Regions from separate parts of the Homo sapiens genome. Here all the other regions are linked to region 3. Evidence: promoter capture Hi-C in 16 types of primary human blood cells and fetal thymus (Javierre and others, 2016). All regions are on one chromosome and are shown on one strand. Each heading gives the region's core, a stretch centred on a gene start or on the middle of the fragment in contact. The rest is flanking DNA. Distances are from core to core; before and after follow the strand shown. Region 1 has its middle 98 kb from the start of LINC02552. Region 2 overlaps ANGPTL5 (angiopoietin like 5). Region 3 holds the start of DYNC2H1 (dynein cytoplasmic 2 heavy chain 1). Region 4 overlaps CARD16 (caspase recruitment domain family member 16).

Region 1 (7,542 bases), core at 4,978-7,477, 1.6 Mb before region 3:
GATAATGATGTGTCGATGTAGGTTCAAGTTGCAATAAATGTACCACAAAGTGGAGGATATTGAAAGTGGGGGAAGCCATGTGTGTGTAGGGTCAGGGAGTAAGTAAAATATCTCTGTACCTTCCACCCAATTTTGAAGCAAACCTAAAACTGCTCTAAAAATTATCTTATTTTAAAAAACATGAGCAAAATATTTGAATAGATGCTTCTCCAAAAAGTTATACAAATGGCTAATAACCAGGAGAAAAGATGCTCAACATCATTAGTCATTAGAGAAATGCCAATCAAAACCATAATTAGATACCAGTTTATACCCACTAGGATGACTATTATGAAAAAGATGGATAATAGCAGCTTGTTGTCAAGAAGTCAGTGAAGATATTGGAATCCTCACACATTGTTTGTGGAATGTAAAATGCTGTAACCACTTTGGAAAACAGTTTGGTAGTGCCTTAAATAGTTAAACAGATTTACCATATAACCAGCAATTCCATTTCTAGGTACATATCCAAGATAACCAAAACCATATGTCTGCATAAATACTTGTACATGGTTATTCATTGTAGAATTCATAATTCAAATATCCACGGATAAATAAAAGAATTCATAATTCAAATATCCACGGATAAATAAAATATGATCTATCCATACAATGGTGTTTTATTCAGCCGTATGAAGGAATAAAGTACTGACACACACTATGACATGGATCAACCTTAAAAACATTATACCAAGTGAAAGAATGTTATCACAAAAATCGCTGTTGTGTGATTCCATTAATATAAAATGTATAGAATAGACAATTTATGGAGATAGAAAACACATTAATATTGCCTATAGCTGGGGAATGTAGAAGGAAATAAGGAGTGTCTGTTAATGAATACAGGAGACTAGGTACCAGGAGTTAACTTCAGCCAGTCAAGTGTAATTTCACAGACCACAAGGCTGAGAATAGGGGAAAGGTGGTTCCCAAAAAATAAAACTTCAGTGTGTTTTGTGGCAGGAAAGAGAACTACTAAAGCCAAGCAGGAGTTAGCCAGGCAAATGGAATGGGGGAAATGAAATTGAACAACCTTACAGAGTCTATTTTATGCAGGTCCTGGTAAGGTATGTTAATTGGCTTAGGTTTTATCCTAAAAAATATTTTCTATAAATAGTTGTCAATATGGAAATGGAGTGTTCACATTTGTATTTCAGATAACTTATTTTGGCTGCTCCTCTTAACTAGTGAATTGCAAGCTTCCCCTTAACATTCTGAAGTCCCACTTGCACTCTTTAAAATCTCCAAGTTATTTTACAATAACTGCTAATAATAGAGGCTGAGTTCAGGCTAAAGATAGAGAAGTAACCATATAGCTGGGAAAGTATAAGCCAGTAAATCAGGGGGCACCCGTGCTTCCAAAGTTACTCAAATAAAATGGAGCATGTTTTCTCCACACAGTGAGATCAATTTATCATTCATCCATCTACTACTTTCCAGATGCTGTCCTAAGCACGGTAAGGATACAAAGATGAAAAGGACACTATTCCCACTTTCAGAAAGTTAATGCACTTGGAGGGGAGAAAAACACATATAACTCTAATAAAATTAGTCTATGAATACTACTAGCAGAGACTTTATGTTTCCATGAGGTTGCAATCTGACCTTGTTCATCAGTGGTCCCTAGTACCTAAATGTTTCCTAGTACATAATAGGCATTTAGCAATTATATTTTTCATGGATGTGTGAGAAGGTGATATAAACTCACGGCAATAGTAGTTTAGAGATGATTACTTCTGGCTATGGAGGCAAAGGTATTTGGGAATAGGTAGTATTTGCCTAGGTGTTGAAATATAGGTATTAGTATTGTTTAGCAAGAGAGGAAGCTAGATGAAGAATGTGTGAGAACCTTCCAGGAAGAAACACCAACAAAATCACAACCAAAGACAAGGTGGCAGGAAAAGAAAATGGTATTTAGTTAACAGAGAATTGAATTGAACTGTCTAGATGAGGACAGATAGAAAGTAGTGGAGAAGGGGCTAGAAAGGTCAAGCGTTGGCTTTTTTTTTTTTTTTTTTTTTTTTGACAAGTTCCTGCTATGTTGCACAGGGTGGAGTACAGTTGCTATTCACACATGTGGTCATAGTGCACTACTTCTGGCCTCAAGTAATCCTCCTGCCACCCTCTGGAGTGGTTGGGGCTACAGGTATGCACCAATGCATCTGGCTATGGGCCTTTTTGTGGGGGAAGGAAGCAGCAATGTACTACCTGGTTAAAATGTTTGAAGAGCTTGAAGGAGATAGGTATGGATCAGGTAGAACAGTATGTTTCCTATTCTGTATTATTCTGGGGGGACAATGGCTGCAGGGGATTGGCACTAGGAATAGAAAACTGAAGAAAGAGCTAAGCTAACCAAATAGAATTATAACCTACAGGAATTATATCATGTTTTCCTTAAACTACAGGTGTTCGTCCCAATAAAAATCAATACTAATTGTTATTTTTCTATAGACCAGACATGCTTTGCAGAAACATTTCTCTATTCCACTAAGTTCTGTAAAAAATCATCACAACAAATAAAAACAAAAAGTGAATAATTGAAAGCCTTTCTCCAAGAATTAATAATACATTAACATGTGAATAAAACATGTTTCTAAAGGAAATATAATTACTTTTATTCTGAGAGAATGACTTAAAGCATTCTCTTTACCTTAAATATTTATGTTAATTTAGCTTATTATCTTACTAAAATATTTTAACAAATTACTCAATGCAGGTTATGTTAATTCTAAAGCTACAGCTGTACAATTTAAATAACTAAAAAAGTTATTGTCACTTATGCTGCTTATAAGTAGGTGTCACCATTTTTAAATGAACACTTTAATCATCATAATTGTGTTAGTAATTTTGCTACTTATTGCCTGAAGCGCTTAAGTTGAAGATAGTTAGCCATGCCTTAGGGGTCTAGTGTAGTGCTATAAAGAGGAAATTAACTGAAAGATTGATTACTAAAAAAAGTCTGGGACTTGCTTATGTATTGAACATAGCAGTAGGTCACAGATATATTTCAAATTTAACTGTCAATTTTCATTAGTTTTAGTCTTCTTTTTGGCTTATAAATTAAATATAATGGTGATGAGATATTTAAAAAATTAATGTCTTATTCAAAATATATTTAAGCTACATCATTGTGGTGCAATTTATATGAGTCCAGTATGGGGATGCTCTGAATTACTGACGCCATGATAATCACTCAGTTATGGAAGAGGGAATACTTCATTTGCCAAAATAAAAAAGGTGACTACAGGCATAATTAGAAATTATTAATTGTTTGGGATAAACAAGTAGCCTAAGGGTGACCCAAAAGCCATTAGGCAAATTTCAAAAGCAATTAGGTGAGGTTATTATTTCACTGAGGTTGTGTAGTCATAGGTGGTATTTCTTAAGGAGTGGCAAGGGATAACAAGACTCAAAATGGCCTTGAAAGAATTTGATAAGAAGGAAACTATTTGAACTGAATCCCAGGTCTTTTTAATTGGTTTCTATGACCAAAGGCCCTAAAATCTGCATTTAGGAAGTTTCTTAATTCCCTAAAACTGGTTCATAGAATCACTACACAAATGCCAGCAACTGTCATTGTTAAAGAGAATTATTTTTAAAATGTCATCTTAAGCTACTTCATTTTGGAGGGGGCAATTCAGGTGAATTTGTTGGGGTACTTTTGAATAAATAAAAATTAAAAATAAGAGACTTAATTCCCCCATTGAGATAAAGAAAGGGACTTCTTCATCCTCATTTTTATTAGAGCATTTACTTTAGAAACCTTATCATTGTAAGTACATTCTCCTCTCTTCGAAATGTACAGAAATTATTTTGAAAACTAGATAGGTCTTTTGTCAACTTTATGACTCAGGAATACCTTTCAGAGCTTGGAAGCCATCTTTTTGAAACGCTGATATGGTTTGGCTCTGTGTCCCCACCCAAATTTCACCTTGAATTGTAATCACCATAATCCCCACCTATCAAGGGCGGGACCAGGTGGAGGTAATTGGCTCATGGGGGTGGTTTTCCGCCATGCTGTTCTCATGATAATGAGTGAGTCTCAGGAGATCTGATGGTTTTATAGCATCTGGCATTTCCCCTGCTTGCACTCACTCCATCCTGCTGCCCTGTGAAGAAGGTGCCTGCTTCTCCTTTGCCTTCCACCATGATTGTATCTTTCCTGAGGCCTCCTCAGCAATGCAGAACTGTGAGCCAATTAAACCTCCTTTTTTTATAAATTACCCAGCATCAGGTATTTCTCCATAACAGCATGAGAACAGACTAATATAAATGTTAACATAAAGGAAGACAGTGCTCCTATCTCCCAGTTTCTGTGGAAGGATAATAATCTAACTTTTGTGGGCACCTTGCTCCAATTTGCAAAGCTAAAGCTATGTTCTATCATAAAGGTATATGGTTTTGATTGTTTGTTTGTCTCTCTCGATATAGCCAATATGCTAACACAGATGGTCACCCCAATTACAAGGTAAAGTTAGGATGAACTGTGTGACAAAAGGTGCTGTCAGTCCTCTTACTTGACAACTAGTTATTGTTCATCTTGAAAAATGTATGTAATGGGTTACTTGATTATATAAGGGGTAGAGATTCCTTTCTGTCTTTGCAATCTCTTAATGGATTTCCTGTGATGTGCATCATATTATGGTGTAATGCTTTTTCAATAATAAAAGTGTTCTCTTTCTCTACTGTCTTTGTGGATAATTTCTGGGTTGAGAGAATATTTTGTTTTTAATTATATTTCTTCAACACTTGCAAGCCCAAAGCCTTTTTAGTTAATGTGGATATGTGAAATACACTGGTATAAGGATGTGTCAACAGTAGTGACTATGGGAAACAGGTCACTGTTAACAGCATGAAAATTCCATTTTTTAGCACTAGCCAATATAAATAAACAAAATTTTAGCTTATAGACTGACAGTCTGCAGTACTGCTTTATGTGTAGGCTGTGTTCTTGAAAATTTCACATATATATATACACACACACATACACACACACACACATAAAAGCCCATAAATTGTTTTTAATTTAAATAAATTGGTCTTCAGATATCTTGGGGGCAGCCACTTTTGCAGTTTCATATTTTTGTAATGCCAATCCAGCAGTACCAACATTATCTCATCTGTAAATTCAGATCTCTCTACATAAAACTAACAGAAACTCATTACTTAGTATACTGTGGTGAGAAACTTCCTGCCATACCAGCTCCTCTGCCTCCATTAAGGACCATTATGACAGACACACCACACAAAAGCACCCCGTCAGCTAGACTTGTTCCTGGAAATGGCCAGCCACAGAAAATCTTCAGTCTCTAACATTGAATAAGACTTCCTGTTTTGAAATATTCTGAAAATGCCGGCTCACCTAGTTCCAGCACACCAACTAATCTCAAATATACCTGAATAAGTCTCTGCTTCCACATCCCACTTTAATGTAATGCTCACCAATTAGAGACGCTTTCAGCATTTTTTTCTTTTTTACCAGGTAAAATTTACTCTCATTTCTAACATCCTTGTACCTCTGCTGAAATGAAAGTGATGACAGATGGGTTCTCTTCCTGCACATTTATGAATAATCAGCCTGTGTTAATTTTAACTTGGGTTCAGTTTTGTATTTGACAGTGTATGATGTATATTTACTTGTTTCTATCCTACACAGTGTAAAGGCTTTCCGAGGGCAAGAGTGTATATGCTTACATTTTTACTGCCTGACACTGCCTGGCACACTAGGAGATCCAATTTATATTGACTGGACAGATTCATGTGTCTTGATAAAGCTGTTAGTTAAAAAAGAATCCTTAGTTTTAATGGTAGTGTATTTTATGGAAGTAAACAAAGACCATCTGAATGAGAACAAGCAAAGTTTATTTATTCAGAGTTTTTAATTGCAAAGGAATCAGCCATCATTGCTTGCATTTTGGCAGACTCAAAGTGCAGCAGAAAAGTAGGGAAGCTTCATAGTTGAGAAGAGGAAAGGCTTCAACTATTATTCCCTGATTGGAGGCTGTTGTTGTGGGGTGGCTAACTAGAAGTGAAGCATCGATGGAATTGGTTAGAGGTGTATAACTGGCTTTCTCTAGTTGGTCCTAAGTTGGAAGCAGGGACAAAAATTATTAAAGTTGTCAGTTATTAATCAAGGCCTGGTCATTTGGGGTCAATTGTAATAGGAGTTATTGTTTGGCTTCCTGGATTTATTATTAGAGATAACATTCTGACTTCCTACAAGTCAGATGTGTAGCAAGCTGGCATCCTGTGCTGGTAGCTGCAAATTGTGGGTTAGGGTTCTATTTTTCTATATGGTCTGGCTTTCACTCATTTGTATATTCTGTCTCTCAATTCCTTCAGTAGCATCCTAGAAAAGACTCTATTGTTAGTTCATCCTTCTTATTGAGCAGATCTATCTTCCTTATCCAGACTCTAAAAGCTTTAGGGATCCCTATTGCCTAACAAAAAAAGTCAAAATCCTTTAGCCTGGCACAATCCAGACTCAAACCATCTTCTCGGCCTTTATAGCCTGCTGTTCTCTTCCATGCATCCAGCAATGTAAGCAAACTGGAGTCCTTTCTATTGCAAAATACAACTATGCTTTCTGGCTTTTGTGCCTTCAAATCAGCTCTCTCCTTTTTTTCTGATCTCTTCTCCATCCACTTTCCATCTCTGCCAATTCCTAGCTGAGAATCCCTGAAGGCCAAGTTGAAATGTATTTTCCTTTTCTGAACATTTCATAAAACTTCACTTTAAATGCTTTTCAGAGTAAAGTACTATGTAACTATAATATGTATACATTGCTTTTATCTATGTTAGAAAAATTATCTAAACCTTGAAAATAAGAAAAAATGTGAATAGCACATTTTTTCAGTGTCCCATGAAAGCAAAACATCATTTATGGGAATGTACATGATTACCTCACTATTTACCCAAGGTCTAAGACTTAAGAAAGGGAAGTTAGACTTTTAAACTGATTTTTTAAAAATTAGACTTTAACTTGTAGACTTTTTTAGAAAGATGAAATTAATTTCTCTCTTGTACGATATACAATTCCAAAATTTTATATCCCTTTCTATGAGTTTTGTCTCTAACCTGGTGATCTCAAATAATATTACTTACAAATAATTACTTTTCAAATGTTCTTTATATCAATTAAAACTTCTTATTAGGCCCGGCGCGGTGACTCACACCTGTAATCCCAGCACCTTGGGAGGCCGAGACGGGCGGATCATGAGGTCAGGAGTTCAAGACCAGCCTGGCCAACATGGTGAAACCCCATCTCTACTAAAAATACAAAAATTAGCCAGGCATGGTGGTGTGCACCTGTAATCCCAGCTACTGGAGAGGCTGAGGCAGGAGAATCTCTTGAAGCCAGGAGGCAGAGGTTGCAGTGAGCGGAGATCACACCATTGCACTCCAGCCTGGGCAACAGAGTGAGACTGTCTCATAACAAAACAAAACAAAAACAAAAAAAACTTACTTGTTCCTTTGTTAATTAAGAACTAGAATACAATTTTT
Region 2 (7,067 bases), core at 367-2,866, 1.2 Mb after region 3:
GGTAAGGGAGTGTTGAAACTAATCTTTAAATCAGGCAATCTGGTCTTGGAGCCGGCACTCCCAACCATCTCATACTGTCTCACTGGAGAAACTCTGAGAAAGTGATTGCCACAAATAAGAGATATGATTGTTTGGGTTTAAATAGTAGGTGGTGAGGAAGGAAAGTCAGAGAACAGATAATTATTTTAAGCTGTTTCTTCATTAAGAAAATATTTGAGTGCCTCTTGTGTATCAGTCATTGTACTAGTACCATAAAAACTATGGCAGTTCTCAGGTTAGGAAAGGAGATGGAGAAAATAATGTCTCGAACCAGAAGGAAGATGCAGGAAAGTTTTGCTTTGCCTCTTAATTTTAGAATAATGAAGACTTAGGCATGTGTGTAGAATGAAGGGAAGGAGACATTGAAAGGGAAAATTTGAAGACATTCATCTATCAACCTTCAAAGAGTGGTCATTTTCAATAATATTATTTCTCTGATGTTCAGAATTTTTACAGTTTTAACAAAATAGTTGTAATTAGATTACAACTAATTACAGATTAATTACAGTCTTAGAAATTTGCAATTTTTTTTTTTTTTTTTTTTGAGATGGAGTCTCACTCTTTCGCCCAGGCTGGAGTGCAGTGGCGTGATCTCGGCTCACTGCAACCTCTGCCTCCCAGGTTCAAGCGATTCTCCCTGCCTCAGCCTCCCTAGCAGCTGGGATTACAGGCACCTGCTACAACGCCCGGCTAATTTTTGTATTTTTTAGTAGAGACGAGGTTTCGCCATGTTGACCAGGCTGGTCTTGAACTCCTGACCTCAGGTGATCCACCTACCTCAGCCTCCCAAAGTGTTGGGATTACAGGCGTGAGCCACTGCGCCCAGCGTTGAGATTTGGCATTTTAAAAGTATATTTTAAGTCTGAATTATCTGCTCTGGATGTCCACCTCGATCAAATTTCTACTTAGCATTTTATAGAAATAGTTCCAAGGTAATATTTTTCCCACTCCATCAGTCATTTCTACTTCCTATTTTTTTGCAAGCAGTTTGCAATTATTGATGTATAGCTTATCAAAGCCATTTTTTTTCCCAAGGCAAGAAAAGGCTGACTCACAAAAATTAGATGAATTTATAAATTCATGCTTTATTTATCTGTCTACATCTGTCATTTATTTATTTATTTACTTATTTATCTATTTGTTGCCTATATTGCAAAAGCTTGGATTTATAATACAGACATGAAGTGATAAAAAAGGAATTGTACAATTTAAAATGTCAGGATCTCCAGAGGCTACTTTGTTTTTCATATGAAGGGTGTTGTTTCAAACCAGGGCATGGAAACTAGTAAGTTTTGGCTTATGTTTTTGTTGTACGCTTTCCAGAGGTTTTTAACTGAAGACTCTATGCTCTGTAGTTCTTTCCACAAAGAGCTGACTGATATTTGAAGAAGTGTTTTCATCTATCCAAGAAAAATATGATGTCTCCATCCCAAGCCTCACTCTTATTCTTAAATGTATGTATTTTTATTTGTGGAGAAGCTGTACAAGGTAACTGTGTACATCATTCTACGGTAAGAATTTTAGCAATATTATATTAGCTAGGAAAGCATGATTAGCTTTCAAGATATATATTAGAATTTTGAAAAGATTAATCATAACTACCAAATATAATTTATGGAACAATTAAAACATGTATTTAGAAATGTTGAAAATTGCTTTAATATTACTGTATTTAAACTGAGGAAACTATAAACTGAGGATTGATTCAACAGATATGAAAATATTTTGAAGACATTTCAGGCCTAGATTAAAAACTAGCCCACAACTTTTCAATGAAATATCTGATAGGTAGTAAAAAATCACTTTGCTTAAAAAAAAAGCTGTTCCACAAACTTTCATATTTCAAATATTGTCCTGTGAGTGGCTACCCAGGAAATTAAGAAATTGGTCCGTTTGATTTTATTTACTCATCAGGTTTATTTGTGGAAGTTTGAATTAAATAGCTTATATTTCTCTCTAATGATCAGCCTTGTCTTTCCTGAAATCTAAGCTTTTCTCTATAGTCTTTTTTATTATGTATTAGGTCATATAACATGTTTAATGTATTTTTTTCTTATTTCTATTTTTTAATATAAAGGACTCTTCAGTAGTTAACATTGTAGAAGATGGATCTAATGCAAAAGATGAAAGTAAAAGTAATGATACTGTTTGTAAGGAAGACTGTGAGGAATCATGTGATGTTAAAACTAAAATTACACGAGAAGAAAAACATTTCATGTGTAGTAAGTATTAAAAATAAACAAAATAATAAGAGTATATGATTCATTATTTTTAGGGTAGACACTGAAAAGTATACTTTAGCTTTTGTCTGGGTCATTTTCTATACATCCTGATCATCCTAGGCCAGAAGCTTTATTGTTTGGCCCATAATAGGTGCTTAATAAATATTTGGTAAATGAATGGATCCTTTCTCTATGTAGCTAATTCTGTGTGCAACAAAAGGGTCTCAGGCTTCTCAAACCAATGAGTGCAGCTTTAGACCTATTAAGACAGATGGCTAAATTCAGGAAAAAGCTAATAGAAAGTGACAGACTGAAAATAAGAAAGAGAGAGGAAGCAGAGTGAGGTAGAATTAAAAATATCAAGATTTTTTAATGTGATTCTACTGCTGGTGGAAAGAAAGTTAGAAAATAAAATTTTAAAGAATAACATACGTAATAGTGTGTGGGCCCTTTTGTTATAGGGGGCAACATTATTACTATCTTGGGTAAAACTCACATAGGGTCTGAGAAATATAGGTAGTGAATGTTTATTTCCTAATTTTGGTGGTATGTTATTAGAAATGTCTTTGGTGTAAGAAATATACACTGAAATAGCATGACGGTACATCATGGCAACATGGTCTCAAAGGCATTAGGAAAAAGTTATTTGTACTGTTATCGCAACTTCGCTATAAGAAATTTTCTCTTAAGATAAAAACATTTTTAAAAGGAAAATGTATAGTAAATGTTTAGTCAGAAACCAAATAACCAAAACCTTTGACTAACATTTATTATGTGTATGTATATGTATGTGCTAGCAATTTAATTGTGTAAATATAGTATTAATAGAAAAATTAAAACAAAGATGTACTTTTTAAAATTAACTTGCCTGGTATAAAACTGTCACCACTAACTTTCTTTTACAGTAAGAATTGATGAATCCTATAACTCCTGCCTCTATATATCTCATCTTATAAAGTGAGAATTTATAATCAGAACACTGTCTCTTAATGATAACAGATTAATTATTCTGGGTAATCTATATTAGTAGGAAGCATAGTTTCATTAAGAAGTATTGAGACAATCATTTCTGGGGTTAATCCTGAGTTAAACAAAAGATATACTAACTAAAATATGTAATTCTGAGTATTAAGATAAATTGAGATAGTATTGAGTTAACATACATATCCAAAATCAGGTAAAATTCACTATTTTTCACTGTAATTGTTTTCTGTAACAATATAATATTTAACAGCCACTTTTTATTATGGTTAAGGAAATTTGCAAAATTCTATTGTTTCCTACACAAGAAGTACCAAAAAACTACTAAGGAATATGATGGATGAGCAACAAGCTTCCTTGGATTATTTATCTAATCAGGTATAGATGTTTTAGTATTGTGTTGTTATTGCATGTACACGTTGATGTATAGTTAGCTGGAGGTATAATCTTTTTTTAAAATGCATTCATGTTCAGACATCTATTTAGCGCCTACCATGTTAGAGGCACCATAGTAAACTTTAGGCAAACAAAAAGCAGTAAAAAAATCGAACTTAATTCAAGGGGTATGGTCTAGTGGAGCATTAAAATGTGTTGACAAAAATGTGGTTGCTAGAATGGCACAAAAGAGAACTCTCAGATACAAAAAGCTTCCCAGAGGAGAAAGTCTGTTAACAGTCATGAAGGATGAATAAATGTTTTAAAAATCATAAAGGTTGGGTAAGGCGAAGAGGACATTCCATTCTGGGGAAACTTCTTGGTGTTGGTACAGGGTGGAGTGGCTGGTGAGGTTGAGTATTTAAGGAAAACTGACTATAGGAATAGGCAAGAACGAAGTCATACCACACCAAGGAGCCACTGTAGTGTTTAAGCAAGGAAATGCCACAATCTGATTAACTTGTGTGGCCAATGACTTGAGGAAGAGCCAAAGGAGGAGGTAAGAAACTACAGCAATGGTTTGGACAAGGTATGAAGGGCAGATGTGCAAGAGCAGCCAAATGCAGAAATCGGGGCAGATAAAATCAACGTTAAGGAGGTAGATACTACGAAATTTAATGATTGCTATTTAGCTTTGCCTTTATTCTTTGTTAAAGCAGTAAGAAATCAATCTAGAAAAATGGGCACCATTACGTATTTCAGAGCTGGGTTTATGAGAGGCTTAGAGATGGCAATTTCTTCAAATATAAATTTACTTAAATGTGTATGCATGTGTTTAGGTTAACGAGCTCATGAATAGAGTTCTCCTTTTGACTACAGAAGTTTTTAGAAAACAGCTGGATCCTTTTCCTCACAGACCTGTTCAGTCACATGGTGAGAACTTTGGTATTTCAGCCTTTTCATGTTTGTCTTTTATTGCTTAAAATTTTCCTGGACAGGTCGATCCATTTAAAAGTTTTATTTAAAAACTACAGCTCACCGTTCTCTAACAGACTGGAGGGCTAATACCTGCTATTAAGCAAATTTCACCATAGACAACGTGTACTTTCTTAAAATGGGAAACTTTTTCAACCATGTGAAAGCCATGGCTGTATAAAGATATCCTGAAGCTGTTGAAAATAACATAGCTTTCTATAGCTTTGTTCTGGACTCCCAGTTTATATCTTATTAATAATTCATCTTCAGATAGAAGAAAAGAAAGTTTCAAAGTTCCTCCCACCTGTAAAAAATGTTTTTGACATGTTTGAAATGTTTCAAATTGGGGCATAAAATTTGAAAAGAAAAAGAAATGTAAGACAAGAATAAACTGAAAGTTAGCACTTTTTATACTAAAATACAGCATATTAATTCCTAGAGGTTTGGACTTCTAAGAAAAATACCCTATAAATCTTATAAATATGAATTTATCCCCAAATGTTTAAAGCAAATAAATATTATTGAGGGCCTAGAACATGATCTTTATGTCCTTCTTCGAAAAAGAAGACAATAAACAGTGCCTAAAAATCTTCTATGTGATAGGTAGGAAGACAGGCACTTTCTCACATTATTTTGTTATTAAAATTATTTTATTATATCTCATAACTGCCCCAAAGCAGGCATAATGTGGTAGTCAGGAGCATGGACTCTGATGTCAGACTCCTTGGTTTCAAATTTCTTGCTTGCTGCTCTCTTGATATGTTTTCTCATCAGTAAACTGATAGTACCTACCTCTTACAGTTGATGTGAGGATTAAGTGAATAAATACAGGAAAGTCTCTTAAAATATTGCCCGAATCAAATGTTTATCACAAGGAAATAAAAAAAATGCCCGAATCACAGGCAGAACAATATAAGGGCTTGCTTGCTATGATCATCATCATCAGATAAGAAATATCCAGCCCAGAAAAATCGAAATAATCTGTTCACATTAATTTGAAAGGTAATGACATAGCAGACACTCCAACCCAGATCGGTCCTTCAGCGTGAACTTCTTTCATGTCTCTGAGCATAAAGTCATTATAAGAATATCTCTTAACAATTAAGGATACAGGCAACAACAAATCTATGTCTCCCAGAGACGAAGGGGAAAACAAGTGACTTTTTATAGCTAACTTTTTGTAGATGGCATTTTCTTCATTATTTGGGTGTGCTGGGCACTATGGTAAAGGCTTTATGTAATACCTTACTACGTAAATAGTTAGGATAACACTATGAAGTAAAGTGTTAGGAGTAGAACTAGGATGTTAAGATGGGCATTTGGATAATGGACGCTCTAAGGGTTGAATTTATTTCACTTATAAAAGATGCTACAGAGTAGAGTATCTTCCAGAAAATGTAATATCCATATCCACATACACGTGTTTACAATCCTGGGGAGATGAGTGCTTTGGAGAAGGTGATTATGGGGTGCTATAATTCTAACTGTTGTTAACAGAGTAGGCTCTAACATCAGGCATAATTTCTTGGGGAAGAAAGTGATTTTCCCCTTTCTTCCTTTGGCTACTTGTATTAGTGGTCCCAAACACATCAGTCTCTGAAGTTGGGAATAGAATAGTGAAATATGTGTCTGTAGTGGTTAATCTACTTATTCCTTTTGGTTTTCTCCTCCCTATTCATGTAGATTTCCTTTACACATTACATTCTCTAAGATAAACCTAAATTTCTGAAATGGCATTATTTATTGGTAAAGAGAATGTGTAATTATAAAATATGTTTAATAAGTGTTGATCCCAAATGAAACTTTTAAATAGTATAGGAAACTAATCACTAACAGTGACATTATAAGTGAAGGCTTATTGCAGCATAAATTCTTTAATCCCTTATATTTTCTTTTTATTTCTAAAATTGTGACCATTTTTCATTTTGAAGAAGTTAAAATAATATAATAATGAAAATTATGATAATAGCACTATCAATTCTCTATAGTAAAATGATTGCCTTAAATGTACATTTGAAAATATCCCAATTAAATAATTTTGCTTTTCTAGGTTTAGATTGCACTGATATTAAGGATACCATTGGCTCTGTCACCAAAACACCGAGTGGTTTATACATAATTCACCCAGAAGGATCTAGCTACCCATTTGAGGTATTTCCCGTATTTGAAGTTTTCCCGTATTATGTGGGCTAAGATAAACATCCAACCAATTTAATTTATGTTAAAATTTAAATTGTTTTAATATTTAATTTTTCCTCAAAAAATTTTAAATAAATTAGGTAAAGTTCTACTTTCAAAATTTTGGTTTTTTAGAATTCTAATGCCCAAAACATGAATTAATAAAAGAGCTAGAGTCTGTCTTTCACTTTTCTATTTGAGTTTCCATGGTTATACTCTTTAAAGTAAATCCATGTGATGCAAAAGCTTGTATTATCCTCGTAACAGGCAGAACTATAGCAGGCAGAACTATGCAAT
Region 3 (7,552 bases), core at 1,574-4,073:
CAATCACTCTGGATTTTTTTTCTTGCCCCTGGAAACTAAGTTAAAACCCAGCTCAGGGCCTTGGTACTTACAGTTTCTTTTGCTTAGAACACTCTTCCCCCAGGTTATGCCTGCCTGCAACTCATCATTCAAATCTCGCTTCAAAGATAACTAATCCAGAGAGGGATTATCTCCCACCCTATATATCTTTAGTTCCCCACGCTGCCCCATCACTACTATAACATTATTTTTATCTTAACGGCACTTATCAATACCCAAAATTATGTTACATATATCTGTAGCATGCGTTTAGCCTACCTTTGTCCATTCCAATGTTACTCCTTTAAGATACGGACTCTGTGTTCATGGCTTTGTCCCCAGTACTAGTAGGTAGGCAATAAATATTTGCTGACTTATTAACTTATTGAATCACGCTAACTATCAGGCAACTAAAGTACAACTGAAGACATAACAAAATATTTTCAAATATGACTAAAAACCTGTAGCGAAGTGTACAACTAAAAATAACAGATACATCGTTGGGCTTTACTAGTAATAGCTTTAACTTAAAAAAAAAAAGTTCTACCTTCAACTTTCAAATACCCAAGCCAAGATACACTTTCACGAATCCAAACCCCTTTCCATCTTTCCTACTGCATTCTATCCGAACTTTCAGTGGCATTTACAACAGTGTGTCCTGATTTTATCATTTGCTGAGTATATGTCATCCTAAGCCACTGGAGTGAGTCTAGGAAAGGCAGAAAGCAGGGGGCTCTATCCTGAACTACGCTACCTATTGGAGAAAAAGAAAAGTTAACATTTAGGTTGTAAATTTTGTCCCTTACTTTCCTCAGCCATAAAATAAGAAAAAGAATAGTTCCTATCTTACAATGTCGTTATGGCTATTAAATGAACGAATACATATAAAGTACTTAGAACAGTGCTTGACAGAGTCTAAAGTGAAAATAAATGTTAGCTATGATTATCCATCCTTTTTATATCTTTGTAAACCCATCATGCCTGGCAAAGTGCCTTGCATGTACTGAGTTCAAAGTAAATGTTTATTAAATACAATCGAATTAAACCTAAGAATAAAGATAGTGAATAGGGTGAATGATTCAATCATCCTATAAAAATGCACTGAAGCCAGGCACGGTGGCACACACCTGTAATCCCAGCACTTTGGGAGGCCAAGGCGGGTGGATCACCTGAGGTCAGGAGTTCGAGACCAGCCTGACCAACATGGTGAAACCCCATTTCTACTAATTGCAAAAAATTAGCTGGGTGTGGTGGCACATGCCCTGTAATCCCAGCTACTTGGGAGGCTGTGGCAGGAGAATCGCTTGAACCCGGGAGGCAGAGGTTGCAGTGAGCCAAGATTGTGCCATTGCACTCCAGCCTGGGTAATACGAGCGAAACTGCGAACTGCGTCTAAAAAAAAAAAAAAAGGCACTGAATGTTTTTGCTGAGTGTCAAAAACTCTGCTAGACCTAGGGATAAGGGTGAACACCAAAGGAAGAGGTTTAAAATATGTCTTTGTTTTATTAACTTAAATCTATTTACTGAGTCCCCTTTAATGTGTCAGGCAATTTTCTTCTGTGTTTTTCTTTTAGGCTTATATATATAAGCCCTGATTGCAAATGCAACCCATTTTTTAAGCAATCCTGCCAGTGGAGGGAGCAGTGCAATTAATAAATCAGTATATCACATGATGTACACCAAAAAAGAATTCAAACTTTATTTTGAAATATATCATTTCACAAAAATTTAAATTCCTAACTAATCTTTCCCTTGGGCAATGTTAAAATCAGAGCCTGATCCAAAAAAGATAGACTAGAATTTGCCTTCCCCCCAAAAAAAAAACTCAAAAAGGGGAGAGAAAAAAATAAAAATAACTAAGTAAATGTTTTCTTTTTAGTTATAACGTATCTGCAGTCTTTCTTAAAAAGTAGAATATAGGCCGGGCGCGGTGGCTCATGCTTGCAATCCCAGCACTTTGGGAGGCCGGATCACTTGAGGTCAGGAGATGGAGACCCACATGGCCAACGTGGTGAAACCCCCGTCTCTACTGAAAATACAAAAATTAGCCAGGCGTGGCGGCGCGCGCCTGCTACTCGGGAGGCTGAGGCACGAGAATCGCTTGAACTCAGGAGGTGGAGGACGCAGTGAGCAGAGATCGCGCCACTACACTCCATCCAGCCTAAGCGACAGAACGAAACTCCGTATAAAAATTTAAAATAAAACACAATCTAATTGCTTCTATTCAGATGTATGGAAGGGAAACATGCTTCGGTCAGGTAGGATGCAAAGCTTGGAAACTACCTGCTTAAGCACGAGGCCAACGCATCTAAGCCAATAATGCAGGAGAAGTGGAGACAGCCTTGGGTTCCTGAAAAGGATCTGGTTGGTAAAGCTAAAGAGTGTGACCCGACGTCCCTCTGGCTGGGCCTGGGGACTTGAAGAGTGGTCAGGGGTCAGGCAGGAGTGCAAGGAACCGTACCGTGTTGGAAAAGGAGATTCCTGCGTCGGATCGCTGCACCCTGAGGAGCATCTGGTTGCCGTCATCCAAGAAGTTGTTGATTTCAAGACAGTTGCACAACAGTGGCTGATCCCAGAGTTCAGACATCAACCCGAAGTAATTCTGGGTAGTAGTGAAGATGAAGAGCTTCCGAACGTCCGCAGTCCCGTTCGCCATGATTGGAAGGGGTGGAGGGAAGTTGGGGGAAGGGGGAAGGAAGAAGAAACCAGTCCGGAGGGAAGTGAAGGGAAGAGAGGAGCTTTGCTCAAACCCGTAGCCCGACCGCGGGACCGCAGAGCTTCGCGGTTGCCAGGGGTAGTCGCTATGGCGACGGAGCACTACGGCGGCGTCGCTGGCGGCGCGCGGTGGGCGTTGCCCTCTCGGGGCACGCGCACGCAAAGCTCGCGGAGGCTATCGACCGCCTCGGAGCTCTTCAGCGGCTCCCTGCGGTCATCGATTGTAAGGGGTTCGGACAAGTTTATGTTGGCTCTCAAACATGTCTTTTATTCTTCTTACTGATTTCTTATCACGCATAATCAGAAGAGAGACATCTAGCCTTCAAGTACAGCAGCGTGATCTAGATTTAGGAGAGCTGGGTTCCAGTGCTCGCTCTCCACGTGCACCTGGTAGCAAACCAGTCTGTCAGCGTCAAGGTACACATCTGTTAAGAAGGGGAAATACTATCTCACAACCAGGGGTGTAGTGCGGATTGTAAAAGATTACTATTTAAAAATCGCTTTTTAGAGAAGCTTATAAAGACTAGGAATTCAATACAATGTTAATTTACTTTCTCAGTCGCCCTCTGCTCCTTTCTGTGCTGCTGCATTTCCCAACATCGTTTTTTCTATTATTAATTTTAGAATAATTTAACCAGCAATTTTTTATTGCAATCATTACCCGAGCACAACCATATTTGTAAAATAGCTAAAATGTAAAATGATACTTTTTAGTTTATTTTATAACAACCGCAACCAAATTCTGTGAAAATACAGATATGAAAACGGTCTTTGTCATTTTCTACTTCATGGCATTACTATAAACTACTAAATTGCTGGTCATTCATCCGAACATTCGTCAAACACTTTCTCAATTCAGTAATTCTCTTCTAAAAATATTTACTACATGCTATTAGGTTGGTGCAAACGTAATTGCGGTTTTTTGGCAAGAACTGTAATTACTTTTGCACCAATCTAACACAATTTGCCAAGTACCGAACTAGGCCCTGGGGACACAGTTCCTGCCCTCAGGAAGTTTTTGCTGTAGTCATTCATCACCTCAGCACTGGTTTGACCCAAGATCCTAGGGTACACAAACATATGCAGATTTTTTTTGTTTGCACTTAATAATCATAACCTCCCCTTAAAACTATACTATTTGAGAATTGGAAGGAGAGAGTCCTTTTATTTGCTGAGCAACTTAAGATTTTGGAGTGGGAACTTAAAAAAGCTGAACTGCTCTAAATTATAAAAGGAAATGAATGTAAATTCTCATGAAATATCCAAACAGTGAGAGATGGGAGTCTGGCCACTGGATGGGAAAACATCCAAACAGTGAGGTGGGATGCTGACCACTGGGTGAGGGAAAAAATCCTAACAGGAACCCAAGATGACTGTGTAGCTAATAAAAAGATTTTGAAAGCCAAAGTGACCACTATGGTTACAGAGTTTCCTGCTCTGCAATGAGCATTATCACTCTTACCAAGGTCTTCAGGAAAGTCTCCATTACCCACAAGTGCTCGGTTTGGTGAGTTGTTTTGGTGGAAATGTATGAAATGGCTGAATTGAGCTTCCATAACAATATGGTAAATAAAAAGGCAACACATGTAGGAAGATGAGTCTAGAAAGCAGATGAGATCATGAGTATGTGATCCTCCCAAGAATTTTTAGAACTCTTCAGGAAACTTAGGGCTTCCACAAACTATGAAATTGTGTTTGAATCAAGTTTAACACCGATCTCAAACATGGAAGCTCCCGTTGACATGTAAACCCCATGAAATAGAAGTTTTGTGTTTCCTTTTCACTACTATATACGAAAAATGAGGCACAGAGTGGGAAGAAAAGACAGATACGGACTTTATGTATTGTATCAAGCATACAATAAAGAAGAAAGAACCTCACAGATTAAATAACTTACACAAAAACACAGAGATGGTAAGTGGTAGAACCAAGATTCCTACCAAAATCCAATTCTGAGCCAATCTCTATATACCATATCACAGTGTTAGCCAGATATCCACCAAAATCTATTTTTCCCTTCCATAGCTAAGAAGTGGCTACCATCCAGGTGTGGTCATGTGACTAATTCTCACCAATAAAATGTGAGAAGAAGTAATGTGTGCGTCTTCAAGGCAAAGTTTTAAAGAAGTGAGAATACCTTAACTTTTGCCAGCTGGTTGCAGATAACAATAAAGCAACAGGGATGGCAAAACTTTCCAAGAGTAGGACCCTAGGATCCTGAATCACAGAGTGGAATAATGTCTGCAGTTGTTAAATAAGCAAGAAATAAGCTTTGTTGTGTTTGAGGCATTGTACATTAAACTGTGTGGGCTATTTTTATGGCAATTTAGGCTACTCTAACCAAAAGAGTAATTGATATCCATAGTGTAGTAATGATTTTTTTTTTTAATGTGGAGCATTGTCTTAGCAGTTGTCTGGCAGGTGGCATAAAAACAGGTAACGTGAGCTGAAGGGGAAGGCCCAAAACTTTCTGAGACAGGGTTTCCTAATTTTGTCCTATATGCCATTTCCCAAACTTTTTGGTGACCTTTTTATACTTTATACTTTAAACAATTATTTTTATACTTTAAAAAATTACTGCCAGGCACAGTGGCTCTCGCCTGTAATCCCAGCACTTTGGGAGGCTGAGGCGGGCAGATCATGAGGTCAGGAGTTTGAGACCAGCCTGGCCAATATGGTGAAACCCCGTCTCTACTAAAAATTCAAAAATTAGCCGGGCACAGTGGCGCACACCTGTAATTCCAGCTACTCGGGAGTCTGAGGCAGAAGAATAGCTTGAACCTGGGAGGCAGAGGTTGCAGTGAGCCAAGATCGTGCCACTGCACTCCAACCTGAGTAACAGAGCAAGACTCTGTCTCAAAAAAAATAAAATAAAAAAAATTACTGAAGACTTCAAAAGGATTTTGTTTCTGTAGTTTATTTCTATCAACATTTATTGTAATCAAAATTAAAACTGAGAAATTTTTGAAATATCTATCTATCTTAAAATAAGCATAATAAGACCATTCTTGGTAAAATAAATAACATTTTTATGAAAATAATTATATTTCTAAAAGGCAAAAAAAAATGATGAGAAGAATGGCATTGTTTTTACATTTTTGTTAAGTCCCTTTCCTGTCTGCCTTAACAGAAGACAACTGGATCCTCTATGTTCTTCTGCATTCCATCTCTTGCAATACGTTGTTTGGATTGAAGTATATAGAGAATATCCAGCCTCACACAGATATGTAGTTTAAAAATTGAGAAGCTAAAAAATGAAGATTTTAATAGATGCTTGTGAATATTCTTTTATACTAAACTAACATTCCACAAGTAGTAGTTTCTTAAAGGATAGTTAAAATTTGGAATTTGGAACCAGATCAATGAATATTTCATACTCAGTTACATTAAAATCCATTGGTTTTCTAGCACTTTGAATGTATCTTTTGCTCGCACATAATTTCATAACATCATACATTGGTCATTTAGAAAGTATTGGTTCCTAAGCTATGAAGATCTTCCAAATATTGATACATTTGCTTATATAATATTTTTAAAATCACATTTATTAATACACCACTGATCTTATAAGAAAAAGTCTTTTTAGAGACAGGGTCTTTCTCTGTCACCCAAGCTGGAGTGCAGTGGCTTGATCATACCTTGCTGTAGTCTCAAACTCCTGTGCTCAAGTGATCCTCCCACCTCAGCCTCCTAAAGTGCTGAGATTACAGGAATGAGCCACCTCGCCTGGCCAAGAAAAAGTCTTTATGTATGGAGAGGTTGTCAAACTTACAGTAGAGAATTTAAGTTATCCAAGATTCTAATTTTTGCAGGAACACTTGAATTTTATCATTGGCCACAAATAAGGTCAATTGTTTCCCTGGAAGTGATAAGCTCATTTCATTCATTTTTAAGAAAAATTTCTGCCAAATATCAAAGTCTGAATAACATTATTTTGTTATTCTTTCAAGTAAAAATGGTCTTCCATGAAAAAAAAACAGCTAGTTTTGACCATAACTCAGACAATCACAAAATTATTTTCCTTGAAACAGGCCATTATTAATACTTCAATGCAGCAGTGTTTTACGGTATATTATTTCATTGTTCAAAATATTGAAATGACTAGTACTGAAGGTTTAAGATTTAATGAAAAGAATAAATTTTACTCCTTCATCCAGGAGATTCTTAAATGAAACTGGAATCTTTTCCAGTGAATGCATGCATGTGAAGAATAGATGATTAGTAAAGCAGTTTGGTGCCCCACCCTTGATTTGTGTCAATTTGCCAGCTGTTTTAGCCACTGCATTGTTTTACATTGTTGTGTAACAAACTACTACAAATTTAGTGGCTTAAAATAACACCCATTTATTAGCTAAAAGTCTGATAAGTCAGGAGGCTGGGTGCTGCATGCTAAGGGTCTCACAGGCATAAATCAAGATGTCAGCCAGGCTGCATTCTCATTTGGAGCTTAGAGTCCTCTTATAGTTGATGCAGAATGCATTTTCTTGCAGTTGTAAGACTGAGGTCCTCATTTCTTTGCTGGATGTCAGCTGGGGCCACTCAGCAATTAGATATTGCCCACATTCTTATCCTCCGTCTTTTAAGCCAACAGTAGAGAACTTCCTAACACATCTAAGCTCCCTTGTGCCTCAAATCTCTTTTATAACAGCAAGAAGCCAGTTCCTTTTAAGGATTCACCTGATTAGATCAGGCCCAACGAATAATCTCCTTTTTCATTAACTCAAAGTCAACTGATGAGTAAACTAGGCACGGGAGTGATATACCGTCATATTCACAGATTTCCTCCACACTCAAGGTTAGGGGGCTCTTCAAAGTGTGC
Region 4 (6,976 bases), core at 1,611-4,110, 1.9 Mb before region 3:
TTGTGCTCCAAACAGACAAGGTCCTGAAGGAGAAGAGAAAGCTGTTTATCCATTCCATGGGTGAAGGTACAATAAATGGCTTACTGGATGAATTATTACAGACAAGGGTGCTGAACCAGGAAGAGATGGAGAAAGTAAAACGTGAAAATGCTACAGTTATGGATAAGACCCGAGCTTTGATTGACTCCGTTATTCCGAAAGGGGCACAGGCATGCCAAATTTGCATCACATACATTTGTGAAGAAGACAGTTACCTGGCAGAGACGCTGGGACTCTCAGCAGGTAAGGGTCAGTGACTCACACTCAAGTTCACCTAGGGCCTGTCTTCGTGCCTAACATTTGATTTCTTTACTAGTCATGTTAATCTGCAGAATATCTTCTTATCTCTGCCTTTGGGCCATATTTCTGTAGCAGAGGCCCTATTGCATGTCCCTTGACTCTTTTTTGTGTTCCTTCATCCTCAGTGCCCTCTTCTGATTAAAGTTCATTTTCTGTTCTGAGTACATGGTAGCTAATTTCCTTAAGGTCATGAGAACTATCTAGAAAGCTTCATACAATATGTTCCAGTGTTCCTGGCAAGGCACGATATTTATTGATTGATTTATTATTTTGTGTCCAGGGTGTCCCTAAGCCCTTATGTAGTTGTTTGACATGAGCTTTAGGGTCTGTATTCAAATACTTTTTATAAATTCTTTTCAAACTTTTGCCCTCAGAGAAGAATAAAGTATATTTAAGTGACGATGATACGTTCAGGAAATACATTCAATGATTACAGAATAGTAAAGATTTCAACAGGGCTCTTTCCTCCCGTTGCCCCCATGCATTTTCTTTTGAGTAAGATCTGCTTGTCTGTTGCCAAGCTGCAGATCATACTGGGAGGCCTGGACTTCCATCATCTGCAGCCCTCCTAGGGCCTGATACAGTGCTCAGGAAATGAGCTTGCCCATTCTTATAATCCCTTGAACCTACAGCATGGTGAGGATGGGAGTTTTGGTGCACTTGAACATTATTTATTGTCATTTAGTCAGGGTTGTGGGAGGAATTTGCAGTGAGGAGTGGCTTATGCATTGCTGTAAAGTTTTCCAGAGATGATAAGTGGCTATTTCAATGTTCTTCATCTTTTTATAGGTCCGATACCTGGAAATTAGCTTAGTACACAAGACTCCCAATTACTATTTTCTTCCTTCCCAGGTAATGTTGTTTTTCAATGAAGAGCATTCTTTGAACCCCATCTTCTTTAACATTAATTTAGTGGAATGAGCTCTGCTTGAAGGGGCTATGGAGAATTCCCATAGACTGATCATATAATTTTCTTTTTTAATCTATTCTGTTTTTGCAGAAACTGTTCCCAAAGCTTTACTACTCTTATTTATACTAACAAAATCTGAATTTGTATCTCAAATTCTGATTACCCAAATAAGTACCAAACTTCATCATTTAAGACTACTGAAATATTCCCTCACATCTTCCAGAGACACATTTATGTAAACAATTTCAGAGCTGAACATGCCATTCTTCCCCACCCTGCTTCTCTTACAGTTTTGTGTAACTTGGTTTTTGATGCCACCATCACCAGTTGTTCAATCCAGGAACTTGAAACTCATCTTGGCCCCCTTCCTCTCATGCACCTCCAATATTCAAGCCATGGCCAAGTTTTATGCATTCTTCTCTCAAATTTGGAAATGTCTCTTCATTCTTACTTCTATTATTTTATTAAAGAACTCTTATTCCTTAAGTGCCCCCCTTAAAATAAAAGAAACTTATATTTGAAAGCAATTTAGAGGCTAGAAATGCATGTTTTTATCAAGTTCAGATATTACTCTACTGAATTTATTAAGGATGATTACCTCATGAATGTTTTCTTAAATGTTTCACAGCATGGGATACTCACTATATAACCAAATACTGTATTCTCAAAAATAACTCAAATGCTTTTCTTTAGTTTTTCTCTATTGCTTTCACAAATCCTTACAAAGAAACCAAACATTTCTTCTACTAAATTATTATTTTATAGTTTTCTCCAATATAATCATTCTAATTAGTTCTTCTCCATGTCAACACACTTCATGCTGCCTTTGTTTATCTGATTGTATAGCAGTTTTTCAAATTTGTTTGCAAAATTAAATATTATTATTTTGCCTTAATAGTTTCTAAAAGATCCTCTGGATATCTAGAAACCTCAGTTCTATCTTGAAACAAACATCACATTAATTTTTTAACAAGTGCATCACATTGTCAGATTGTGTTGATCTTGTGATGAAATAAAAGCCTCAAAGATTTTCTCACATAAACTCTGTGAAAACATTTCCTCATATGTTCGTGAAAGCAATGTTTAGTGCTATGAATCCATCTAGAGCACACCATGATTTTAGCATTCATCGTTCTATTTTATATTTATTCTAGTTTACGTATTCAATATTCTTGTCCTCCCATATGTATACATTGTAGGAGGAGATGCTGAAGGACAGGAAAAGGGATCATTAAAAAAATATTCCCAGTGTTTACTACCATGTCTATTAGGTAAATAAATAAAAGGATAAACACATATTTTAAAAATTAATTAGTGTTAATTAAGACCTGCTCCCATTAAATTTTATCCTAGGGTTTGAATCCTTTGAAAACAAATCATATTTTAACTATTTTATATCACTCATTGACTGTTTCCTGAGTGTTTTATCATGCATGGCCTTGAAAAGCTTCCTCTCTGTTTTTATCTAAGATGCTTGTAGAAATACTTATGCTCAAATATGAAAGTAGATCCTCCCTGTAATGCATACCTAGAAATCTCTGGCTTGAAATGTGCTCCATTAGCAGCAAACGCACTCAACTATGTTAATGACTAGATTAGGATTGTCCTCTAGGAATGTATTTCCTCTTTTGTAGCTTCCTCCATAGGTGAGGCTATAAGAACAAAGAGGGATACCACTGTTCATGATATTCCTTGTCTCTTGCAGCTCTTCAGGCAGTGCAGGACAACCCAGCTATGCCCACATGCTCAAGCCCAGAAGGCAGAATCAAGCTTTGCTTTCTAGAAGACGCTCAAAGGATATGGAAACAAAAGTTGCAGAGGTGCCATGTTCAGAATACAATAATAAAGTGGAGTGAAAGATATACTTCAGGCAGTTTTGAAATGCAGTGGCTTTTTCTTAGAACCAATTTTATTGAGCGGTTCTGGAGGAACATACTTCTGCTCCCCTTGCATAAAGGATCTCTATATCCTAGAATCCCAGGTTTAGGTAAAGAGTTGCAAACTGGAACTCATAAATTATCATAGTCTTCACCCAGTCTGTCTCTTAGAATTTATTTCCCACTGACACAAACAAGCCATTTTGTCTGCTTGTATAACCCAGATTTTCCAGTGTAGTGCCCAGTTGGAAAAAAGCACATCCCATTGAGCAAGTATTGAAGTGGACTCTTGCTTCTCACCCAATTCTCCAACTTGTGTTTACCAAGAATTGGAGTCAGTTTTTTACCTGTTGTTCCTATTCATAAAATGAAATTAATGTTTATTTAACATATTGAAATGAAGCATATGAATAATTTAGAAGCACTTTACCAAAAAGTACATTTTAACATTACCTTGCTTCTGGGCTATAGCTTATGACTACTATAAATGAGAGGTATAGTGGCATGCTCTCTACACCAGGCATTGCATCTTAGAAGGTAAGAATGATAATGAGGCCCCTCCTATACATGAGAACACGGAGGATGGGAGATGTTAAATAACTTGGTTAAGATCTACAGCTCATAAATAGAAGTTGACCCTAGGGCTATTAGATGCCAAAGTCCACACTGATAAACCGGGCAGAAAGAAAGAGGCTTTTAGACAAAGAAAAAATAAAATAACATGTAATAGTTGATTAGTGCTCTAAGTTGTATTACACAAAATGTGCTGATAGTCCAAAAATATAACTAAGAAGAGTTGGATAAACTGAAAGTGTCCATGAACTTCTAAGGCTTGGAAATGGGATGGCCAAAACCCAAGCACAGAATTGTCTGCCTTCTATGTCAGAGATTTTTACAGTACCTACTCTGTCATTTAAAATTATATTGTTTCCCAGACTTCACACTGACAGGATTTTATAACATTATGCACATTTAAAATATTACTTATAATAGAATTGTTACATTCATTTATTTTGAGATGATTTTACCTTTGTAATTCTATTTTCCAAGTACACATTTAAGTCAACAATTTGGTTCCTATAAATTATATCCACTCTGTCTACAATTCCCCATCCAACTTGGGTGGTTGGTAATTACAACTCAGTCACTATAAGAACAACTTCCTCTTACCAAAATTTTTACAAATTTGTGGAGTGTGTCCAGCCAGAAATCAACAAAAAAATATATATTATTACAACCACTGACCATTTTCGCTTCAAAATTTTAATGTTATTTTTGTATAATTTACGTCAAAGAAAATGTACTCCTTTTAAGAATACAAGTTGATAACTAATGATACATGGCTATTCTAGTATAATAACATCCTAGTGAATAGGCAAACCGATTTTGTCACCCCAGAAAGTTTTGTCACGCCCATTGTTATCAATCTCCTTCCACTTCCTCCTCAGATAAGTAGTCATCGAATTTCTATCACTGTACGTTAGTTTTTCCTAATCTAGAACTTTATATAATTGGAATCACAGGGTATGTGTTCCTTCCTATATGGCTTCTTTCACTCATAATTGAAACATATTTTTTTCATCCATGTTATTGCATATATTAGTAATTTTTCCCTTTCATGACTGAATAGCATTTCAGTGTACATGTATAGCACAAATTGTTATTTTATGCTCTGGAATTGGATATTTATTTGTTTCCAGTTTTTGACATCTTCATTTTTGAGGAAACAGTGGGCCCTTGCAATCTAGTGGCTCAGTGTTTAGCTTTCCATGACATGAGACTCAAGGCTTATGGTTCTACATTCCCAGATATATGGTCTAGTCATGGCTTCTGTTTCTGGGATGTCACTCTGACATGCTTCAACTCAGTGGTTCATGGCTCTGGCTGTGGGCGAAACCCTCATGTGAAATACTTTAGTTAATAGAAAAAAAATTGAATCATTTAAAAGTACATGATGGGAAGATAAGTAATACACAGGCAATTTCTGCTTTCTTCCATGCTACAAATCCTCCCAGTGGCAAGGAGCACAAGTTTGTGCTGCCATCGGATTAAGTCATTGGCAAAGTAAAGATAAAACACCATGAGAGGTTGGGCATGGTGGCTCACATCTATAATCCCAGCACTTTGGGAGGCCAAGGTGGCCAGATTACGAGGTCAGGAGTTTGAGACCAGTCTGGTGAACATAGTGAAACCCCATCTCTAGTAAAAATACAAAAAATTAGCCAGGTGTGGTGGTGCCTGTAATTCCAGCTACTTGGGAGGCTGAGGCAGGAGAATCACATGAACCCGGGAGGCGGAGATGGCACCATTGCACTCCAGTGGGGTGACAGTGCGAGACTCTGTCAAAAAATAAAAAATAAAAAAAAAAAACGATGTCCTCCTACACAGTGAGTTCTAGTCAAACCCAAACACATTTAACCCTTCACCTAGAGCACAGAAAATAAAACTGGTAGCCCACATGTCAAAAGGTGGATGTTTTTCTAACTCTGGGTCTTTAATCTCCAAAAATATTAAGGTAACAAATCAGGAGAATTTTTGGTAAAGAATTTGATAAACGTAACATACCGTGTGCATTTTGCAATTAGCCCACCTTTCATCAAATAGATTTATAAAATAAATTAGCCACATTGAGTTTGTTTCTGGGATAAGCAATTGAACATGTGATTGCAAAGGCAGAGACCTTTTCTGGCCTTCCCTGGCTCCTCTGTCTAAAGTTCATGAGTCCTGCAATATTTTGTCTCCTACTTTGCCAATTTTTTTTTTATCATTCTCATCACTTGCTACATTTGAACAGTCTGAATATTCCAGTTACATATTACATACCAGGTGTATTAGTCTGTTCTCATGCTGCTAATAAAGACATACCCAAGACTGGGTATTTATAAAGAAAAAAAGAGGTTTAATGGGCTCATAGTTCCACATGGCTGGGGAAGCCTCACAATCATGGTGGAAGGCAAAAGAGGAGCAAGGACACATCTTCCATGGAAGCAGACAAAAAGGCATGTGCAGGGGAACTCCCCTTTATGAAGCCATCAGATCTCATGAGACTTTTTCACTATCATGAGAACAACATGGGAAAAACCCACCTCCATGATTCAATTACCTCCCACCAGGTGCCTCCCATGACACCAGGGGATTATTACAATTTAAGGTGAGGTTTTGGTGGGGACACAGAGCCAAACTCTGTCATTCTGCCCCTGGCCTCTCCTAAATGTCATGTGCTCACATTTCAAAACCAATCCTGCCTTCCAACTGTTCCTCAAAGTCTTCACTCATTCCAGCATTAACCCAAAAGTCCAAGTCCAAAGTCTTCTCTAAGACAAGGCAAGTCCCTTCCACCTATGAGCCTGTAAAATCAAAAGCAAGTTAGTTACTTCCTAGATACAACGGGGATACAGGCATTGGGTAAATACACCCATTCCAAATGGGAGAAATTGGCCAAAGGAAGGGGCTACATTCCCCATGCGAGTCCAATATCCAGTAGGGCAGCCAAATCTTAAAGCTTCAAAATGATCTTTGACTCCATGTCTCATATCTCGGTCATGCTGATGCAAGAGTCGGGGTCCCATGGCCTTGGGCAGCTCCACCCTCGTGGCTTTGCAGTGTACAGCATCCCTCCTAGCTGCTTTCATGGGTTGGCATTGAGTGCCTGAGTATTCCAGGTGCATGGTGCAAGCCGTTTGTGGATCTACCATTTTAGGATCTGGAGGATGGTGGCCCTTTTCTCATGGCTCCACTAGGCAGTGCCCCAGTGAGGACTCTGTGTGGGAGCTCACACCCCACATTTCCCTTCTGCATTGCCCTAGTAGAAGTTCTTCATGAGGGTCCCACCCCTGCAGCAAACTTCTGC

The links. The method cuts DNA at HindIII sites, captures the fragments that hold promoters and counts their contacts. A CHiCAGO score of 5 or more calls a contact.
Region 1: a contact is called between a fragment that was not itself captured here and the fragment with the promoter of DYNC2H1 in region 3, in 1 of 17 cell types (total CD8 T cells). The highest score is 5.1, in total CD8 T cells.
Region 2: a fragment that was not itself captured here is called in contact with the fragment with the promoter of DYNC2H1 in region 3 in 4 of 17 cell types (non-activated CD4 T cells, total CD4 T cells, total CD8 T cells and 1 more); the score reaches 11.5 in non-activated CD4 T cells.
Region 4: a contact is called between a fragment that was not itself captured here and the fragment with the promoter of DYNC2H1 in region 3, in 2 of 17 cell types (total CD4 T cells and naive CD8 T cells). The highest score is 5.4, in total CD4 T cells.

The regions. Positions count from the first base shown.
Region 1 is chr11:104,703,742-104,711,283 of GRCh38, reverse strand. No RefSeq gene overlaps it. Among named protein-coding and RNA genes, the nearest start is that of LINC02552, 98 kb to the right of the region's middle. RefSeq lists enhancers at 5,344-5,463, 5,474-5,603. The HindIII fragment of the contact is 471 bases long and covers 5,992-6,462 here.
Region 2 is chr11:101,902,297-101,909,363 of GRCh38, reverse strand. ANGPTL5 (angiopoietin like 5) reads left to right here. Exons shown (of 9, transcript NM_178127.5): 2 at 1,363-1,550; 3 at 2,117-2,261; 4 at 3,517-3,620; 5 at 4,457-4,550; 6 at 6,643-6,743. The coding sequence starts at 1,455. Among named protein-coding and RNA genes, the nearest start is that of CEP126, 9.2 kb to the left of the region's middle. The HindIII fragment of the contact is 831 bases long and covers 1,201-2,031 here.
Region 3 is chr11:103,104,697-103,112,248 of GRCh38, reverse strand. DYNC2H1 (dynein cytoplasmic 2 heavy chain 1) reads right to left here and starts at 2,823. Exons shown (of 89, transcript NM_001377.3): 1 at 2,480-2,823. The coding sequence starts at 2,674. RefSeq lists enhancers at 2,991-3,040, 3,111-3,230. The HindIII fragment of the contact is 957 bases long and covers 2,292-3,248 here.
Region 4 is chr11:105,037,698-105,044,673 of GRCh38, reverse strand. CARD16 (caspase recruitment domain family member 16) reads left to right here. Exons shown (of 4, transcript NM_052889.4): 2 at 16-282; 3 at 1,129-1,191; 4 at 2,955-3,111. The coding sequence ends at 1,148. Among named protein-coding and RNA genes, the nearest start is that of CARD16, 4.1 kb to the left of the region's middle. The HindIII fragment of the contact is 323 bases long and covers 2,699-3,021 here.